Linked DNA regions of Homo sapiens: regions 1, 2 and 4 are each linked to region 3. The links are contacts of gene promoters, found by promoter capture Hi-C in human tissues and cell types (Jung and others, 2019). All regions are on one chromosome and are shown on one strand. The core of a region is centred on a gene start or on the middle of the fragment in contact, and the rest is flanking DNA. Distances in the headings are between cores, read along the strand shown. Region 1 holds the start of CHERP (calcium homeostasis endoplasmic reticulum protein). Region 2 holds the start of MED26 (mediator complex subunit 26). Region 3 holds the start of BABAM1 (BRISC and BRCA1 A complex member 1). Region 4 holds the start of NWD1 (NACHT and WD repeat domain containing 1).

Region 1 (2,809 bases), core at 201-2,700, 730 kb before region 3:
GCAACAGGCCTCCTTTCAAGCTGTTTAATCGAACACCAACTGTGTGTTATGTATTAAGGGACAATGACCTTGTACCTTAATACAAGACGAGCGTGTAGTCCCCTGAACTACACGCTCGCCGAAGCCAAACAGACCTTGTTTGGGTCATTGTACCTTAATACATAACACACAATTGGCGTTCGATCAAACAGCGGACAACCACCTCTCAATGTCCATCTACCTGGCAAACTCCTAGTTATTCATTTAAACAATCTAGAGACGGGGTTGGGTACTGAACGTGACAGATGTGATACCTGCCCTGAGCAGCCGCACCACCTGGTGACTATCCATTATTCAAAGGCCAGCTCTGCTTCCTAACTTTAAACTTCTTTAGAGCAGGACTGGAATCCTGTTGCCTAAATGAACGAACATTGATAAACACTTGCCAATAACTAAAACTCAGAGGGATAATTCTTTTTGATTTCTGCTGCAGGCATCTGAAATGCACAAAACCTTGCTGGACCCACAGGGAGACGGCAAAGGGGGCTGGACAGTGCCTGTCCCATGGACTCCCATCCGGCCTCTATCACTTCCTCCCTAGAAAACACTAAAACAATCACGCTACTCCTGCTAATCTCCGTCATCAGTCTGCAAAACAACAGCAAAATCCCTGATCCAGAGCCCAGGGGGGAGGATCGAAAACCTCGTTGTTCTCCATTACAGTGGCACCCAGCAGCCGCTCTGTGCAGGGCCGTGGGAACAGCGGAACAGGGATCGTGTGGACCGAGCTGCTCCACTTCAAAGAATAAACGACCCGAAAGAAAGAGGTTTGTGGCAGAGCCCGGACTGGAATCCGAGAAAGGAAGCGCTCGATGGGACGGCCTGAGTGCCGGAGGGGACTCACGCTGCTGCTGCTCCAGCGCCAGCTTGCACTTGTAGTAACTGTAGAATTCGCCTCCGAAAAGAAACGAGAATTTGGGGTTGTCCTTCTGCTTCTCCATAGTCATCTTCTCAAACTCGGGCCCATTGCGAGCCACGAACTGGGCGAGCTTGTCGATGACATTTCGAAGCTCCTGGTCTGGAGGACGGAGAAAAGGCCACGCGGGGCGTCAGCGAGGACCGCCCAAAGCCGGGGGACTCGGCGCCCCAGCCCCCGTCCGCCTTGCCGGGGACCCCAAGGGGGTGGGCCCCGAAGAGGCCGCCCTTGTACGGGTCCCGATAGGGGCCACACGCTCGCCGGGAATGCGGGGACCCACGGGAGAGGCCGCAGGCGAAGCCGCGAGGCCGAGCCCCGCCCCCTCCCAGACCCGGGGACTCCGGGAGGCGGGGCCGGCCAATAGGAGGTTCCGGGGAGAGAGAAACGGTCTCTCGGCCGGTTTGGGTCTCACCATCGGGGGGCAGCGGCATCTCCATGGCTCCGGCCGCGGGGAACGTCCTCCGGCGCCACACGATCGACCACCAGCGCCGTCTGCGGAAGCCGGCCGGAAGTGGCGCGAGGGAGCCGTTTACGGCGGGCTTCTAGGGCCGCTTCCGCCCGCCACTTACGGCCGTCGCTGGGAAACTCCGGAAGTGAGAGCGGGAGGCAGGCGGGAAGAAGCCGCGCGATGCCTGGCGCGCGGGAGGGGCTAGCGACGCGCACGCGCAGAAGTTTCCTGACACTTTCGCAGAGTGGGTCCCCGTCGCGCGGCGCCGCGGAAAGGCTGGAACGGCGCGGGTGGGTGTTAGTCGAGACCGGGGGGCGCGGGGCGTGCCCCTTGGTCGGCGTCGCAGCCCGATGGGCTGGCTGGTTGCTACCTCCGGGCGACCAGGGGCCTGGGGACTTCGTGCCTGGGCCAGGGTCTCTTTCCTTTCGCGGGCACAGTGAGGAGACTGCGAGGTGAGGTGCGTCCGGGTGGATCCCGGGCTGCGGCGACTGTCACATTCTCCCCGGCCAGACCGGAGGTGGAGCAGAACTGGGGGCGACGAGCTTGACTGGGATTGCAGCTGGACGTATTTAGGTTCAAAACATCCTCCTCCTGGCTTTCTTCCGCTCCACTCTTTGGTCAGGAAGACTGGGGCGGGGTACCCCCCAACCCATGCCCTCAAATTGCTGGCCTAGAGGGCACAGCGCCTTTCTAAAAGCTGCAGTTGGGTTGCCTCTAAAATAATGAAGCTAACCCTTGCTAATTGTGGGGAAAAGATAGCCAGAAGCAGCAAATTTCTGCTGTGGACGTCCGATATAAACTGATCCTCTTGAGATGGTTAATGCTTAGTTGGCTATACCTGCCCCCCGCCCCCGCCGCTTTTTTTTCCTTTATCCGTTTTTTTTTTTCTTTTTTCTTGAGACAAGGTCTTGCTCTGTGGCCCACGCTGGAGTGCAGTGTCATGATCATAGCTCACTAGCCCTGAACTCCTGTGCTCAAGTAATCCTCCCGCCTCGGCCTCCCAAAGTGCTAGGATTATAGGCATGAGCTACTTTACCCAGCCTGTTTTTTTCTGTGCAAATAAATGCACATGTATTTTAGATTAGTTTCATTTTTATTGTTAACAGCATTTTTCCACCAGATGCTTATGGATTGACAACTCTACATCAAGTGTTGCTGTAGGCTAGGAATCAACAAAACTTTTTGTATAAAAGGGACAGAAAGCAAATATTTTAGACTCTGCAGGTCAGGAGGCAAGATCAAGGATTTTTTTTTTTCTAAATGTCCTCTAGTTCATATTTTCTCATGAAGATCGAGGATCTTAATTGTTTGGTTTTTTTTTTTTTTTGAGACACAGTCTTGCTCTCTCTCGCCCAAGCTGGAGTGCAGTGGTGTGATCTCGGTTCACTGCAACCTCTGCCTCCCGT
Region 2 (2,700 bases), core at 10-2,509, 640 kb before region 3:
ACACACACACACGGAAGGGGAGGGGGCGGTCCCTCCGCAAACAGTAGCCTCAGCAAAGGGGCACCCGAGGAAGCGACACTCTGGAGTTAACCCCGACAGTCTGGGTCAAAAACCACCAGGCTGAGACCCCCAGGTGAGGGAAAGAGCCTACTGAAACAGAGCTCTTGGGTAAACGGGAGAGAAAAGTCCTCTTTAATTCACTACCTAAAAAATGGAGCTCTGGCTTGGTCAGAGACGCAATGGGTACTGAGGCCCAGAAAGGCAACAGGAAGGATCCCACCCTCCCCGAGATCATCTATCGTCGGCAGCGACCCCAAGAGGGTTTTGGCAAAGGCGTGTCTAGTCACAGAAGGGAGACAGACTCTCCACGTACCCTAGGTACCCGGCCAGGGGCAAAACAGACTGGGGGTTCTCTCCGAAGCCAGGAAGGTGCTGCCAGCCGAGAGGAGGGGGAAGAAGGACTTCCCTGATCACCCAGGAGGCCAAGACATGGGAGACATAGGTTCCCCGAGTCATACCCCGGACACCAGTTGCTTCACAGCCCTTCTCCCTCCCCTTCCCGCTCCGGGAGGGCTTCCCGGGGGTCTCGGGTCCCGGAGGGAGGGCGAGGCAGAGAAGCTTCGTCCAGAGCAGTGAGGGTCGTAGAGCTGGAGCAGAAAGGGAGGAAAAACTCTAGCCTCAGCTCCCCCGTCTGCTTCCTCCGCCCAGGCCGCACGGAAGCCTCGGCCTCACGTACCGAGCGCTGCCGGGCTGCCCGACCTGCCCCCGGCCCGGGCCCGAGAAGCGAGAGGCAGGGATGGCAGCGGCCCTCGAGGGGAGGTGGGCGCCAGACGGGTCCCCCGAAGCCCGGTGGGCGAGGGGTACAGGAGAGGGGGAGGGTCCCGGGCCCATGCGGCCTCCGTCCCAGCTCGCGCGGCGGGTACTTACGTTGCTCTGGGGGTCGATGGCCTGCAGCAGCCGGTCCCTGATCTGCTGCGGAGACGCCGGAGCCGCTGTCATTGCCTGGGCGAGGCGGGGGGTTGCGGCCGGGCCAGCGGGCGGGCGGGCTGAGGCGGGGGACGGGGGTCACTCACTCGCCGGCCTCCGGGAGCCGGAGCCGCATGTTCCCCGCGGCGCCGGGGGGTTGGGGGCGCGCGGGGTGGCGGAGAGGGGAGCCGGGGCCGGGTCTCGGTCCCGGGCCGCCGCCGCCACCAAAGGAGGAGGAGGAGCCGCCGGAGCCGCCGCCGCTCGCTGCCGCCGCCTCGAGAACCAAACTCCAGTGAGCTGCCCCCGCGCGGAGTACTCTGGGTAGTCCGCGCCGCACGCAGCGTCGGCGCCACGCTGAGGAGGTTGGGAGATGGGGCGGGCGGAGACGCCAGGCCTGGGCGGGGCTGCCCGTGTGCCACGCCCCGCGCCTCCGCGCAAGCGCGCGCAGGCGCACTCGTCCGCCCGTGACGCCCCGCCCAGCCGCCCGGCCTAGGCAGCCGTTGGGAGGAGGTTGGGCGGGGCAACGGCCCCCGTCCAGGTCACGGGGCGGGGCTTTCTGACGGAAGCGCGCGCGCAAAGAGTCCTTGAACCCGGACGCTCGCAGCGGCTACCTCGGGGCGGGGAGGGCGGCGGGAAAATCCTTCCTCTGGGAGAGCCTTCCCGGCGCGTGACTGGGGGACGGGAGTCGCAGGCTGAGCAGCTGCCGAGTTTTTTGTGAGGGCGAGGGAACCAGACGTCCACGTTGTGATTCTGCGCGCAGAAGGGTCATCGGAGTCCGGGGGTGTCGCCGCGGCCCCCCCGCCCCTCAGAGGGTGTGGGAATGGGTGTGGTGGCAGGGCGGGGGTCTGCACCGCCACGCGCGACCCCGATCGCGAAAACGTGAGGCGGCAAAGCGCCTCTGGCAGAAGCCGCCCGCCGTAGCTGGGAAAGCCGGAGGTTGCAAATCTGCGTCTACGCGGCGGCTTCTCCACCTCGGCACCACTGGCATTTGGGCGGGATCGCTCTGTCTTCGGGGCGGGTCCCCCGATCTGTCGGAAGTTGAGCGGCATCTCTGGCCTCCGAAGCGCCCCCTCCCCCAATCTGCAGTCATTGCCGCCGTCCCTTGTGGGGGCACAGTCCCCCCGCCCCCCCACCGGCAGAGAACCCCGTGATTGAAAGACCCTTCTACCCGCCTCTGCCTTGAGATTCTGTAAAACTGAGATGCTCATTCTCTTAACCAAACACGTCACAGAGGAGGAAACGGAGGCCCAAGGTCACCTAGACTTCGGGGTTAAGCCCAGAACCGCAGATGTCAAGTTTAAGGGCGCCCCTCCTCCCTCCACCCTGTTTATTGCCTTGGTAATTGCTCCCCTCTCTCTGGGAGCTCTGTTGGAAATGCTCTTGTGAGACGGGATGGAAAGGCAAGCTCGGCGGCCTCGGGAGAAATCTTTTTTTTCCCACTGTTACAGGAAGACCTAGATTTAAAACAGGAGGAAGACAGCTGATGAGAACCACATGTGTGCCTTGGAGCTGCCCGACACCTGTTAGTCTTGTATTTGTTGTGCTTCTGGGAAATATTTTCATTTGCAAAAACGGCTGCTTCTGCACGTGGCTATGGTTGCGTGCTTCTGCACATGTGAAAAGTTTTACATCACACTTGGAGGAGAAAAGAAACACGGGCAAAACACTTGTCATTTACTGCTCCCAACCTCGCCCCTCCCAGAATGCGGTGCATTGTGTACATGGTGTACATGG
Region 3 (2,817 bases), core at 318-2,817:
GGCTGGAGTGCAGTGGTGCGATCTCGGCTCACTGCAACCTCCACCTCCTGGGTTCAAGCAATTCTTCTGCCTCAGCCTTCTGAGTAGCTGTGATTATAGGTGCGCGCCACCACACCCAGCTAATTTTTTGTATTTTTAGTAGAGACGGGGTTTCACCATATTGGCCAGGCTGATCTCTAACTCCTGACCTCGTGATCCACCCACCTCAGCCTCCCAAAATGCTGGGATTATAGGTGTGAGCCACTGCCCCCAACTCCTCAGTTGTTTTTTTTTTTTTGAGGGTCAAAGAAGCCGGCCACATTGGCCAGGCTCTAATTCGAGAATAGCCGGAGGGGCTGTGTAAGGTGAGCTTTGAAGCATAAAGAACTTGCCAGAAAAGCAACAGGAGGAACAGCATTCCAGGCAGAAGGAACTTCCTGGGCAAAGGCTTAGAGCCTTCAAAGAGCCGCTCTAGGTGACACAGCGAGACTCCATCTCAAAAAAACAAAAACAAAAACGAAAAAAAAAAACACAACAAAAACCCAGCTCTACTAAAAATACTATATATATCTCAGCCGGGCCTGGTGGTGCATGCCTGTAATCCCAGCTACTTGGGAGGCTGAGGCAGGAGAATTGCTCGATCCCTGGAGGTGGAGGTTGCAGTGAGCCGAGATTGAGCCACTGCACTCCAGCCTGGGCGACAGAGCAAGACTCTTGTCTCAAAAAAATAAAAATAAATAAATAAATACTTCTGGGGCTAAGGGGGAAGTGTGCACTAAGAAGACAACGGCAGCCTGGGCGACAGAGTGAGACTCCATCTAAAAAATAAAAATAAAAAAAAAAGGAAGGAAGCCTAGGGTAGTCTGATGCGGTGGTCCTCGCCTGTAGTCCCAGCTACTTGAGCGATCGCTTGGCTGTAGTGACTAGCCATGATCGCGTGACTGCAGTCTAGTTTGGGCGACAGAGCGATACCCTGTCTCTAAAAATAAGAAAAAAAAAAGCCATGAAAAAAGAGGTAGGCTTGAAATAGGCCCGACTTAGCTTCGCTCCACCTACAGTGACCCAATAAGACCAGAGTAAGTATTTTTTGATTCATGCAAATATATGTAAAATAAGGAACAAGAATTAAGTAATTGGGAAGGGCCCTGGATGCTCAGGCCACACCCACATGGGAATACCTGCCCCACATGGAGGCTCAGGCCAGCTCCACCAATCACCAATCAGCTCCTCCTCTTTCCCTAAATCGGCCTTCTCCGTCCCTCTTAGCCTATCACATTGCAAGCTCCACCTCTATTCCACGTTTCAGCCTATCACGGTAGAAGCACTGACTATTGTAGTCTGATTCGGCCAAAAACAAAAATTCACTAATTTTTTTAATCCAATCACATTTCATACTTTGCTCCAGTGTAGCCAATCACATTCCAGGTCCCGCCGCACCCAGCTCCAGGCAGCTCTCACTCCAAACCCCACCCCCAACCCAGTTTCAGCCTATCAGTTTCCAAGTTCTTTCTAGCCTCAACCAGTTTCTGTCTCTGCTTGTTCTGCAGCCCGCTGAACTACATTTCCCAGGAGGCGTCGGGGCTGCGCCGTACAACTTCCGGCTGTAAAGATGGCGGCTTCCTAGTGAGTCGGCGGCTGATTTAGAAGGAGGTTCAGGCTACGGTGAGCCGAAGGTGGGTGGTGAAAGCGTGTGGGGCCCGTTCCTAGGGGCCCAGCTCCCTTTGCCCCAAGAGATCCAGCTCCTCGCCTTTCCTGGGGCTTCCGCCTTTATTTCTGGTTTCTCCTGCAGTGTAGCCTCCATCCTTCTTGCTGCCGCTAAAGCCTTGTTTTTCTTAGAGGTGTGGGGACTGCAAGGCGCTCAAAGACCATCTTGGGAAGCCCGTGCCTATTTCCCAGATAGACAAACTGCTCCATTCGCGTCCTGTTTCTCTCCAAGGGGAACCACAGTACTAATATTTTGCTTCTCCCTCATGCAGACACCCGCTAGGGACGAGGGTGTCCTAGAGGTTATTATTCCCTTATTCACCAAGACATTTTCAGTTTTAGGTAACAGAAAACCCTACTCAATCTGGCTTAAGGAAGAAAAGGAAGTTGGTGGCTTATAGATTGGGTCTAACAGGAGCTGGGTCCAGGTGGTCAGAATTCGATCTGCAGTTTTCTCGGTGGAGACCATTTCGCTTTTTACCGAGGCAAAAGGGGCCCCTCACAGCTCTCAACTTTATTCTACCAGCTCTGCAACTCTAATGAGAGTCTCTTTTCCTTGATGACACTGCTAGAAGTTGCAGAGCTGCCACTCAATGGCCTGATTTGGGTCATGTGCCCATCCCTGAGCCATTTTCAGTGGCCAGAGAGCTGGGATGTGCTCACTGGCCGAGTAGGGGCATGGGGCTAGCACTACGTTAAAAAAAAAAAGAGGAAAAAAGAGGGGGGACTGTTATCTTATGTCGGAGTGGCTGCTCGGCTGAGAGGTGTAAAAGGCAGCCATTCTGCAGCTGAGGAAAGTGACTCCCTAAGAGGAGTGACTCATCATCAGTAAGCGGCTCATCGCCCCTCTTCCTTCTTAGTAACCAATCTTTTTTTTTTTTTTTTTTTTGAGACGGAGTTTCGCTCTTTTTGCCCAGGATGGAGTGCAGTGGCGGGATCTCGGCTCACCGCAGCCTCCCCTCCCGGGTTCAAGCGATTCTCCTGCCTCAGCCTCCCGAGTAGCTGGGATTATCCGCATGCGCCACCACGCCCGGCTAATTTTGTATTTTTAGTTGAGACGGGGTTTCTCCATGTTGGTCAGGCTGGTCTCGAACTTCCAACCTCAGGTGATCCACCTGCCTCGGCCTCCCAAAG
Region 4 (2,700 bases), core at 122-2,621, 550 kb before region 3:
TATCTGAAACTTCTATCCCTGAAAATATAGTAACACTATTATTATTACTTTTTCTTTGAGATGGAGGCTTGCTCTGTCGCCCAGGCTGGAGTGCAGTGGCGCAATCTCGGCTCACTGCAAGCTCCACCTCCCAGGTTCATGCCATTCTCCTGCCTCAGCTTCCTGAGTAGCTGGGACTACAGGTGCAAACCACCACGCCCAGCTAATTTTTTGTTTTTTGTTTTTTGTTTTTTATGTAGAGACAGGGTTTCACCATGTTAGCCAGGATGGTCTTGATCTCCTGACCTCGTGATCTGCCTGCCTTGGCCTCCCAAAGTGCTGGGATTACTGGCGTGAGCCACCATGCCTGGGTGACTTGTGAGTTTTTGAGACAAAGTCTCGCTCTGTCACCCAGGCTGGAGTGCAGTGGTGCGATCTCGGCTCACTGCAAGCTCCACCTCCCGGGTTCATGCCATTCTCCTGCCTCAGCTTCCTGAGTAGCTGGGACTACAGGTGCAAACCACCACGCCCAGCTAATTTTTTGTTTTGTTTTGTTTTGTTTTTTTTGTAGAGACGGGGTTTCACCGTGTTAGCCAGGATGGTCTTGATCTCCTGACCTCGTGATCTGCCTGCCTTGGCCTCCCAAAGTGCTGGGATTACTAGCGTGAGCCACCATGCCCGGGTGATTTGTGAGTTTTTGAGACAAAGTCTTGCTCTGTCGCCCAGGCTGCAGTGCAGTGGCAGGATCTCGGCTCATTGCAACCTCCAACTCCCAGGTTCAAACAATTCTTGTGCCTCAGCCTCCCAAGTAGCTGGGATTACAGGCATGCGTCACCACGCCCAGCTAATTTTTCTATTTTTAGTAGAGATAGGGGTCTCACCATATTGGCCAGTCTGGTCTTGAATGCCTGACCTCAGGTGATCCGCCTGCCTCGGCCTCCCAAAGTGCTGGGATTACAGGCATGAGCCACCGTGCCCGGTCTTGGAGTTTTAATGGTAATTAATCATGGCTAACATCTCACGGGCCCTTCCTGTGATGTAGGTGTAGTGTTAGTCTCACTCTCTATATAAATGCTTTTCATTGTCTCACCAACACAGGAAGTTAGTGAGAAAATTCAAGTGCAGAGTAGTGAAGCGTCACAGGCAAGGGACTTCACCTTTCTGCATCTTGTTTTCTTCATCTGTGAAACAGGATCATAATGTCTGTCTCTTGGGGTAATAATGTGGACTGCTAATGCCAAATGCCAACCAACTGCACCTCCTAGACTGTCAGCAAATGGCATCTTTTACGAGGAGCCGTATCAGCCTGGCACACAATAGTTAACCACTAAGTCTGGGCTGAATGCCCGGCTAAGCTGGTGCCCTAGTGCAAACAATCGCTTTCATTATCCCAGTTGCTGGGAGAATTGGGCAAGGAGAGACCCATAAAATACCTAAGACGAAAGTTACTAGGATAGCCAGGGGCTTGTCTTCCGGGTGGCGCCGAGGCCAGGAAACTGTCCTCTCTAACCTATTTCCCCAGAGGAGTCTAAATTGGTCGTTCAACTACCAGCAAAGGCTAAAGAGAGGCTGGAGCCCCCAGGACAGCCAGAACGCTGACACTGCAAAGGGCCTCTGTCCTTACTGGGGAAGCCCAGTCCTGCTCAGCTGTCTTCTTCAGCAACAAACAGAAGTCCAGAAAGAGAAACAGTTGTGGAGGAAGCTGTTGTGATGATAATTTACTGAGCACCTACTATGTGCCAGGCACGCCAGCCTTACCAGACAAGATCCTTGGGCTCATGGAATTCACTTTCTCGTGGGACAGACAAACAATAACATGTAGAAACATATCAGCTGTTGGTGAGTACCATGCAGAAAATTAAAATAAGGCGATGGCATTGGGAGTGACTTAAGGGGTCACTACGCAATGGGATGGTCAGAGACAGCCTCTCAGGAGGAGGTAGCATTGAAGCTAAAATGTGAACAACATGAACAGATGCAGCATAGAGCACTAAAGTACAGGACGTGCAAAGGCCCTGAGGTTGAAATAAGCTAAATGCATTAGACTAGGGGGTTCTCGAGTAAGGGGAATTCTGCCCCCTAGGGGACATTGCAATGTCTAGGGAGACTTTTTTTTTTTTGAGACGGAGTCTCGCTCTGTCACTAGGCTGGAGTGCAGTGGCGTGATCTCAGTTACTGCAAGCTCTGCCTCCCAGGTTCACACCATTCTCCTGCCTCAGCCTCCTGAGTAGCTGGGACTACAGGTGTCCGCCACATGCCCGGCTAATTTTTTGTATTTTTAGTAGAGACGGGGTTTCACCGTGTTAGCCAGGATGGTCTCGATCTCCTGACCTCATGATCTGCCCTCCTCGGCTTCCCAAAGTGCTGGGATTACAGGCGTGAGCCACCGCACCTGGCCGAGACTTTTTCTTTTTGAGATGGAGCCTTGCTCTGTTGCCCAGGCTGGAGCGCAGTGGCACGATCTCGGCTCACTGCAACCTCTGCTTCCCGGGTTCAAGCGATTCTCCTGCCTCAGGCTTCCGAGTAGCTGGGATTACAGGTACATGCCACCGCGCCAGCTAATTTTTGTATTTTTAGTAGAGATGGGGTTTCGCCATGTTGGCCAGGCTGGTCTCGAACTCCTGGCCTCAAGTAATCTGCCTGTTTTGGCCTCTCAAAGTGCTGGGATTAGAGGTGTGAGCCACTGCACCCAGCCTAGGGATACTTTTTAATTGTGACGAC

What was found. The method cuts DNA at HindIII sites, captures the fragments that hold promoters and counts their contacts. A contact is called where the count stands out against the background at its distance.
Region 1: the fragment with the promoter of CHERP here is called in contact with the fragment with the promoter of BABAM1 in region 3 in 1 of the 25 tissues and cell types used here (dorsolateral prefrontal cortex).
Region 2: the fragment with the promoter of MED26 here is called in contact with the fragment with the promoter of BABAM1 in region 3 in 2 of the 25 tissues and cell types used here (dorsolateral prefrontal cortex and lymphoblastoid cells).
Region 4: a contact is called between the fragment with the promoter of NWD1 here and the fragment with the promoter of BABAM1 in region 3, in 1 of the 25 tissues and cell types used here (spleen).

Annotation. Positions count from the first base shown.
Region 1 is chr19:16,540,987-16,543,795 of GRCh38, forward strand. It overlaps CHERP (calcium homeostasis endoplasmic reticulum protein), which reads right to left and starts at 1,451. Exons shown (of 17, transcript NM_006387.6): 1 at 1,368-1,451; 2 at 884-1,057. The coding sequence starts at 1,392. RefSeq lists silencers at 1,083-1,152, 1,163-1,352. The HindIII fragment of the contact is 9,580 bases long and covers 1-2,809 here.
Region 2 is chr19:16,626,945-16,629,644 of GRCh38, forward strand. MED26 (mediator complex subunit 26) reads right to left here and starts at 1,260. Exons shown (of 3, transcript NM_004831.5): 1 at 928-1,260. The coding sequence starts at 999. LOC105372296 (a long non-coding RNA gene) reads left to right here and starts at 1,488. Exons shown (of 2, transcript XR_936361.3): 1 at 1,488-2,304; 2 at 2,415-2,700. RefSeq lists silencers at 1,124-1,183, 1,284-1,543, 1,794-1,873 and enhancers at 1,388-2,319, 2,424-2,473. The HindIII fragment of the contact is 10,464 bases long and covers 1-2,700 here.
Region 3 is chr19:17,265,876-17,268,692 of GRCh38, forward strand. It overlaps BABAM1 (BRISC and BRCA1 A complex member 1), which reads left to right and starts at 1,568. Exons shown (of 9, transcript NM_014173.4): 1 at 1,568-1,652. RefSeq lists enhancers at 618-1,077, 1,338-1,837, 1,345-2,056. The HindIII fragment of the contact is 20,462 bases long and covers 1-2,817 here.
Region 4 is chr19:16,718,476-16,721,175 of GRCh38, forward strand. It overlaps NWD1 (NACHT and WD repeat domain containing 1), which reads left to right and starts at 1,372. Exons shown (of 19, transcript NM_001007525.5): 1 at 1,372-1,818. The HindIII fragment of the contact is 25,691 bases long and covers 1-2,700 here.